2 separate regions of the Homo sapiens genome follow, and region 1 is linked to region 2. Evidence: promoter capture Hi-C in 16 types of primary human blood cells and fetal thymus (Javierre and others, 2016). All regions are on one chromosome and are shown on one strand. The core of a region is centred on a gene start or on the middle of the fragment in contact, and the rest is flanking DNA. Distances in the headings are between cores, read along the strand shown.

Region 1 (3,961 bases), core at 979-3,478, 200 kb before region 2:
ATCGTCACTTATTACTGCTCTCCTCAATGACCATCTCCAATGAGATGAAGCAGCTTATGAATAAACCATGGGAGAAGTATACAGGCATATTATGTTCTCCTCTATCCTAGATCCTTTTAGGAAAAAACAAGAAAGTAGGCCTGAAATAAAAAGGTTTGTATAACATCCTAAGGAATAAATCAGGTCTTATTAAGAGAATGATCTAATATTCTACCCTTTTGCTATTTAGTCTTGACAGCCCAAATACTACGTAGATGAAAATTCCAATAGAGTAAGTCTCTTCATTTTATAACCACCATGTCAATAAAAAGTAAAAAAGGGGATGAGGCCATCGCACCAATGAATATTCCACAGGAGATATGATATTAGTGAATTGGGTATTATAGGAATAGTAACTAAAACTTAACTGAACACTTGAATTGGAATAATCAGACTATCTGAATCCCAAAAGAGATTCTAAATCTGAGATATTATCAAATGTAGTGATTTTAATAGACATTTTTCTCATTCTCATCTTGAAGTCCTCATCAGAGTGTCAGGCTACCTCTGACCAACATTCACTCACCTGATTTGTACCATGACCTTACTGTCTGGTAAAGATCCTTTCTACTATTTTTTCTTTTTTGTAATTATAACCCAAATTGCTAAGTACAGTCGTTGCTTCCCTGATGGGTCCTGGATCCTCTTCCAGCTACCTGATACCACATCTGATGGTCAGCTGCTGCTCCCTTTCCTTCATCTCTGCTTGTAAAAACCTTTACTTTGCAGGATTGTTTTCTTATGTTTAGGCTATTTTGAGACTGTTCAGGGAAGTGCTAGTAAGTACAGACCAGAACCACTTTAAATAGTATTTAAAGCTTTATCAACCATAGGAGAACAGACTCCCGTGAGGAAGTCAATAGGATTCTTATTAAAATTAACGACATGTATCTCAGGATGCAGAAAAAGAACATCAAGATGAATGAGCAGAAAAAGAATCAATATCAAGGGGAAGATTTTACTGCCGCAGGGCAAGCCACCTATGGATTTAAAATGGGAATGAGAGGAATAGAGAGGGTATTGTTGAAGCAGAATGCTTAGATCTGGTGATGGATTCGAAAATTTACCTGAGAATGAAATTCCATTCTAAGCTAATGCAGACTGTACACATAACATAAAAACTCAGATGCAAGGGAGGAGTTTTGGATAAATAAAATATTGCGCCATCTAGTGGAAACGTTAGCGCTTTCTCTTACACTCTCATCAGCAGTTTTTCATTTGATGGTGTATTAGCCATTATTAGGAATGCTTTGCTGAGGAGAAATACCACTAAAATCAACACCTCATAATAAAATGTAAAGTGTCTGTAACTGTATCAGAGTTTTAAATAACACTTAAATTCTAATGGTAAGAATCCAAGAATAAACATCTAACTAACAATAAAATATATGTAATTTTATAATTCCCTAGGAAAATCTCTGAGGAGATATTTTAAAAAAAACATACAGGCATTTATATAGTCACCTACGTGCAGAAACAGGAATACTGATGCAAGTTTTCTGCAAAAGCCTCTGTATATTAGTGGAGGAAAAACAAATCCTGAAGTATGCAAAACACACTTCTGCTTTCCTGCTTTGGGATGGATACATTCCTTAGCTTAAGTTTCATATCTCTGCCAATAGCAAGGTAAATGCTTAATATGTAGCCATGTACCATATGGAATCACTTGATGAAAATTTGAAATATGATTTTGCATAGAATTCATTTAAACAATGCAAATAAACTACTATTATTCTTGCTTCTGTTCTCAGTGGAATTCGACTAGTGTCAGTGGAGCGGGCATGGGATTGAGACATGGATTACATGGTGCTTCACTCAAAAACAATTACATTTATAGTACTACTAAGCCCACACAGGAATTCCATATGCTTTTTGTTATTTCCTTTTAAGGTTTTAACACTGATGACCAAATGTCCAAATCAAAGACAGATTTTTCCAAATAATAGGGCACACTGTGAGGTTAGGTGGAAGAGGGATGGTTTATTATCTGGACGCAGGACAGGAAATTAACGAGCCACGTAAATACAGAGATCTACTTAGCACGTCTTTTCCTTCTTTCCCTTCAGACATACCATATGGTAACTGACTTATCAGAGTAAAGCACGTGTTGTTCACTTTTAAAAAACCCATTTAAGTTAGTCTCATAATTGTCCTGATTGAGAAAGTGAATCATGCCATGATTCAAAAAATCTGTTCTTCACATAAACCTATGAGCACACATTTTAAAAATGATTTATTGTACATCTTTGCATTTCTTAAGGCATGAACAATGGCATACAGATGGAACAGGTTCTGAGAAGCATCACATCTTTTTCGACAAGGCCAGCACAATCACACCACATCAAACAGACACACTTGAAGTCTGCACTGACCGACTGCTTGTGGCCCAGGAGTCCTGCGATAGGGGATGGTGCTTCCAGACAGTGGAACAATCGTGTGGTTTCTATGTTGTTGTTAACTTTCTTGATCAGCTTTAAGCACCAGTTACCATTTGTTTTTCTTTACAAACTGGTCAGACTTTGGATTTTATATTCTGCTCCTTTTATTCTGCTTTCCAAGGACGGTGTGGATTTTTTTTTTTTTTTTTTTTTTTTTTTTAAGGAATATGGTTGCAGCAAAACAGAAAGGATCCCAAAGTGGTTAGGGGCCTTGTCTAATGCACTTCTGAAAGTCCATTATAAAGATGAATAGAAAAGCAAATGGTAGGTTTTCAGTTGACCCAGAAACCACACATAGCTATAAGAAACATAATTGTGCATAGTTATTTATTCATTCAGAATGTGATATGTTGGCTAGCTCTACATTCCCAGTCTACCAAAGAACAGGGCTGTCTACTTTGCTAAACCCAGGGTCCTTTCGAAGCTCCCAGTAGGTGTCGTTAGAAACCCAGGCTTCTCTTTGATTGGCATCAATAACTTTTCTGTGAAAATATAAACATCAACATTAGTCATGAATCACATCAAGGTAACCTTAAATAGGACCCTCTCCTATAGATTAGACATGGACATATAAGCAGTGTTTGTAAGCCAGTTAGTATCTTATCTGCTAGCTACTGATGATGTGACTATTTTTGACTGGAAGTGAAGTCATTTTTGTTGTTAAATGTGTGAAATGGAAGTAGGTAGGGCCAGGGGGAGAGGAACTCAGGGCAGGAACAAATTACCTCCTGGCAGGGGTAAAAAGTAAATAGCCCCCAATAAAGCATATACAAATACTGTAACTAAGAGCTTCAGGTCCCAGACCCACAAGAATCCTTTCTCCTTCACTAAAAGTATGCAATATCAGTAGCTCTAAGAGCCCCTACTGGGCCCATGTCCAAGGAGCACATTTTAGACATCTGAAGGGCAAGGCTGCATTTCTACCCCAGGGCAGTAATGACAGGACAAGTCTAAAGGAGATAAGGTTACCCTGAGCTTTTTGTCCTGGCTCTGGAGGGCAACAGATGCATTTGGAAACCTCAGATTAATCTGTGTGATGTATATATAATCCTGCAAATAATCCTGTAATAATCACCTACTATCATACCACAGAGAGACCAAATCTAAACACACACAAGCTTTGTGTGATAGAAATAAAATGAAATCCTAATAAAAGCCAGGATGATCTTGTGGGCAGTGGGGTCTGGTTCAGTCCCTGGCTAAGGGAGTGGGAACCAGTTTCCACCATTCTAAAGAGTGCAGCTGAAGGACAAAGAGCCTTCTGGGCAGGATGCTCACTCTTTTCTGCTGCCCATGAAAAGAGAAGAGCTGTAGAAAAAATTTCTTTTTATAGTTACTAACTTTTCATAAGTGCAAAATCGATTCAATATTTTCACTGCCAAAAGCAAAGATACCAAAATCCATTTACCCATTTTATTTTCATTTAACTGGAGTTTCTCATGGCCTGTGGCAACCATTTGCAAAACATGAACTTGCTATGGGAG
Region 2 (4,138 bases), core at 1,344-3,843:
GAAACACTGGCACGTGTGCCCAGGAAACAACAATAATCAGAGCAACACTGCAATATCTCAAAAAAAAAAAAAATGGTCAGAGAGGAGAAAAGAGAAACATACTGCGTTATAAGACACATAATGGAATATTTTACTGCAGTGAAAGTCAGTGAACTACAACTACATACAGTATGAATGAATCCAGAGATATAATATTGAGTGAGGAAAAAAAAGTTCCAGAAGTCAATGGATACTATGAGACCCTTTTTCCCCCAAGATTTAAAACCACTTTTTAAAAAGTATCATAATTATGACCTAACCTTTGCAGCAAAACAACAAAATCCTTCTTTTGAGAATGTATGCCTTACCTTTCAAAACTATATTATCTTCTCTCTAGTCCAACAGTTTCATGAGTAAAGTCATAAGAATTTTTATCTCCTTATGCAGTTTACCTAATCCGGTATCTGTGGTGGTACTAAGACCTCCAACCACAAAGATTTCATCTTGGAAGGACTTTATTTTTCTCCTTGAAATAAAGTTAACTTAAGGTTATAGCAATCTAGGGATAAGAAAACTTACATATGTGATCCTATAAAAGTCCAGCAGAACTACCTCATACTAAAGCCAAGAGTCACCTGACAAGTCATAGTAATCTGAAACTGAGGTACCGCCAAAGGTAATCCATCCACTGAATGTATAATGGCGTTATCAACATTGCATCCAAAAATATGAGCAAAACCAGAATTTTTAGGCTTTCTAAAAGCCTGAAATTTTAATTTCAAAATATTTCATTTTTACCTTAAGAAAAATTATTTTTTAGGGAAAAAATATATGAACTCCTACTGCAAAAGAATAATAATAATAAAATCCACCAATCAGGGCCTTTCCCAATGAGGGCTATGCATATTCTCTGTAGGTGATTATTGCTGAATTACACTGCAGCTTCCCTTCGACCTTGGGAACCCTGCTAACTCTCAGAGTTACTGCGAGGTCTTCTGTTTCATTTATTATTAGTCTTTGTCTCCGCAATGCTGTAGCATGTGATAGAAATATCAACGTTGTGAGCTTGCAGTACCCAAAACTGTAGAAATGTTTCCAAAAAATAAAGCGGGGGTTGGGGGCGGGGGGAAGGATGAAAGAAGGAAAAGAAACAAAAACAAAACAAGAGGAAAACAAAGTTAATGTATTAAGATGGGAAATTTCTTATTTTTACCTTGTGAAGACTACATTTCCTAATCAGCTTAGTGATATGTAACCATTAGTATGCAATTTTTAAATTTAAGAAAAGATGTCCAAGAAAATTATTTAGAAAAAAAAAATCACAACTGAATATAATAGACAATTGGCTAAACTTAGCCCAGCAATTTAAAAATGAAAGTTCCTATAGAAAAAACCTTACAGGATTTTGTGTCCAGAAGAGAGAAATAATCTGGCAACCCAGTGGGTTCACTTAGTTTCGTGTCATTTGCTTCATGTCCATTATGTAATGCTTCCCCTAGCTTTAGGTCTCTATGTTTAAGCAACCGTTCAGGTATATCATAGAATTGTCACAAAATCAGTATCTGGTTATAACTTTCAAAAACAGCTTAAAAGGTGCCTTGCAGATGTGTCTATACGCAGCAGAAGCTTTGGGGAGAAAATCCGCTTGTGTCATTACTTCTCCAGGCTTTCTCCTCAGGTCTCCCATTCCCTCCTCCCCCAGCATCCCCGGCGACACGATCTGCGGGCAGCTCCCGGCTTGATGCAGGGGAAGCACGTCTTGACTGCAATGCAAACGCTGTCCCGGTCTGAACCAGGGAAGGCAGACTTGGCCCTGGCCGGGGGAGTGGACGGAGGCTGCCGGGAGGGCTGCAGGGGCGCCAGCAGCGGGTGGGCAGGGGTGCCCCGCGAGGGCAGTCCGCAGTGCACGCGCACAATAAAACCCAATGCACAACTTCCCCAGCCGCTCCTCTCGGCTTCCCCGATTCCCTGAAAGGTGCGGCGTAGGCGTTAGCTCTCGCGGGCGCGGGCGCTCTCACCCGCGCCGGTTCGGTTTTCCGCTGACAATTACATCAGTCCTTCTCCCTGCCCCTGCTTCAATCCCCAGGCAGCCTGCGGGGAGCAGGGGCGCCGGCCCGCGCGAGGGAATGCGAGCGCTAGTGGCAGGCGGCCGGAATTCCCTGGCAACGAGGGGGAGGGAGGGCGGCAAACCGGGACCGCGATACAGACGCCCCCTCCCATCCCGGCCGCGAGAATGGGCTGACACCGCCGCCCCCACTTCCCTGTAGCCCGGGCTATCGGCCGGGGGCGCCTCCAGGGGGACGGCGATGTCCTGGGGACCCGAAGCTGCGGCTGCCCACCCACGCGTCCCTCGGGGTCCTCGGCCCGCCGGAGGCGCACAATGCCCCCGGGCCGCGATGCGGGCACCTTGGCGCCCGCCCCAAGCAATCCCTTTGCAGCTAGGACACCTACCTGGAGGGCGAGCGGTGGCGCCGCGGACTCTGCGGCGGCTGCGCGGCTGCGACGGGAGGCAGGAGGCGGAGAGCCGGCCCCGGCAGGCGGACTGGCGCGCGGGCTAGTGGAGGAGAGGAGGCATGGGCGCCGCCTGCACCGAGCCGCGATCTCCAGCACCGACAGCGGCGGCGGCGACCGTGCTGCGCCTCCAGTGGTCCGCTGCGCTGCAGCCCCTCCTCTCCCACGGGCGGGGCGCGCTGGCGGGGCGGCGCTCCGGGTTCCCCGCCCCCGGCTCCCGCCCGTCCGCCCGGCTGGAGTGGAGCGGCAAGCGGCTGGGGCTCATGCTGCGCACCCGCCCTACCGGGCGCCCCTCCCTGCGCCGCCAGATGGGCTAAGGACCCGGCGCCCTGCGCCCTGGTCACGCGGGGTCCCACAGCCAGGGCTCTCCCCTGGCCCGGCCTCCGTGGGAACCCGTGGTGTCCCGAGATCACCCGCAGTGGAAACCCCGAGTTGCCATCCGCGGGCCTGCGCGCAGTAGCGGAGCCCTCGCCCCGCGCAGTCCGGCGGAGGTGAGCCGGCCGCGCTCGGGAGGGTTGCCCAGAACGGCTCCAGCGCTCGGCCCAGGAGCGCCGCAGCCGGGAGCACTGCGGGAGACCGAATTCCGAAAGGAACGGCTGCCTGGCGGCCTCCGCTCGGGGCTGCCAAACCCATGTCCCTGGGCGCCCTTCTGAGGTCGTCATTTCATACACTTACGCGACTGTGCGTGCCTGCTCCCGTCCCTGACTCGCTCGGGAGCAAAAACTTCCCGGGCCCAGAGAAACACCTGGGTTCTGCGAAAGGAAGAGCCGGTTCCTTCAAGCCCCTGGCAAAGCCGATCAAAGTCAGTCAGTCCCGCCTCACTACAACCCTTCCACACCCTTAAACCCTTCCACACTCCAAGCCACTCCCGGCCTGCGTTCGGTGTGCAGATTAATCTAAAGGCAAATTTGCTGGGAGGGACGGGGTAATGTAAATATTTGTACAGACATTCTGTAAACGAGTGACTGCGGACATGTCAATATTTCAAGACATTTGTGTCATCATCATCTGGGGGTGGGAGGCGGAGGGGGAGTCCAGAGGACATCGACTGGACTTAATGGGAGCTATTACAGAACATGCTGGGGTGCCTTCAAAAATGGAAGATATTGCTTACTAATGAGGCAACTGTGATGGCATTTCATTGTGCCCTGTGCTGACAAAATGATTTGCTATGAAACATAGTCGACTTTATGCACTCCTTCCCACATGCAGTTTCTCTTGAATCTCCAATCTCACCTGTTGGATTAGCTTTTTCCATCTAGACTAGCAATGTTCTCATGTCCTCTGGTCACAAAATAATAGATGCGGGACCCTGCGACAATGGCAGTTTGTCCTTCATTCCTTTGCTGTGAAGACAGGCTCCTCAAGGGAGCAGCTGGGATGCTGACCTCTGCTTCATCACAGCCACCCTTTCTACTTACTCCTTCTGAGTTCCATTAACAGAAACTCTACTGAAATGGCTTTCTCCCTTAAAAGAAAAAAAGCTAAAACCCATGTATTTAAAAAGAAATACAAAAGTGTGAACGGAAATGAGAGTACACACAGCACACAGAATCTTTACCTAAAGAAGTTCTCTAGGCCCGGCGCGGTGGCTCACGCCTTTAATTCCCGCACTTTGGGAGGCCAAGGCGGGCGGATCACTTGAGGT

Evidence for each region. The method cuts DNA at HindIII sites, captures the fragments that hold promoters and counts their contacts. A CHiCAGO score of 5 or more calls a contact.
Region 1: a contact is called between a fragment that was not itself captured here and the fragment with the promoter of OSBPL6 in region 2, in 2 of 17 cell types (megakaryocytes and erythroblasts). The highest score is 5.9, in megakaryocytes.

The regions. Positions count from the first base shown.
Region 1 is chr2:178,394,449-178,398,409 of GRCh38, reverse strand. OSBPL6 (oxysterol binding protein like 6) reads right to left here. Exons shown (of 25, transcript NM_032523.4): 25 at 1-2,959. The coding sequence ends at 2,851. Among named protein-coding and RNA genes, the nearest start is that of CHROMR, 17 kb to the left of the region's middle. The HindIII fragment of the contact is 2,738 bases long and covers 860-3,597 here.
Region 2 is chr2:178,192,967-178,197,104 of GRCh38, reverse strand. OSBPL6 (oxysterol binding protein like 6) reads right to left here and starts at 2,593. Exons shown (of 25, transcript NM_032523.4): 1 at 2,431-2,593. RefSeq lists silencers at 1,609-1,903, 2,350-3,039. The HindIII fragment of the contact is 4,321 bases long and covers 1,608-4,138 here.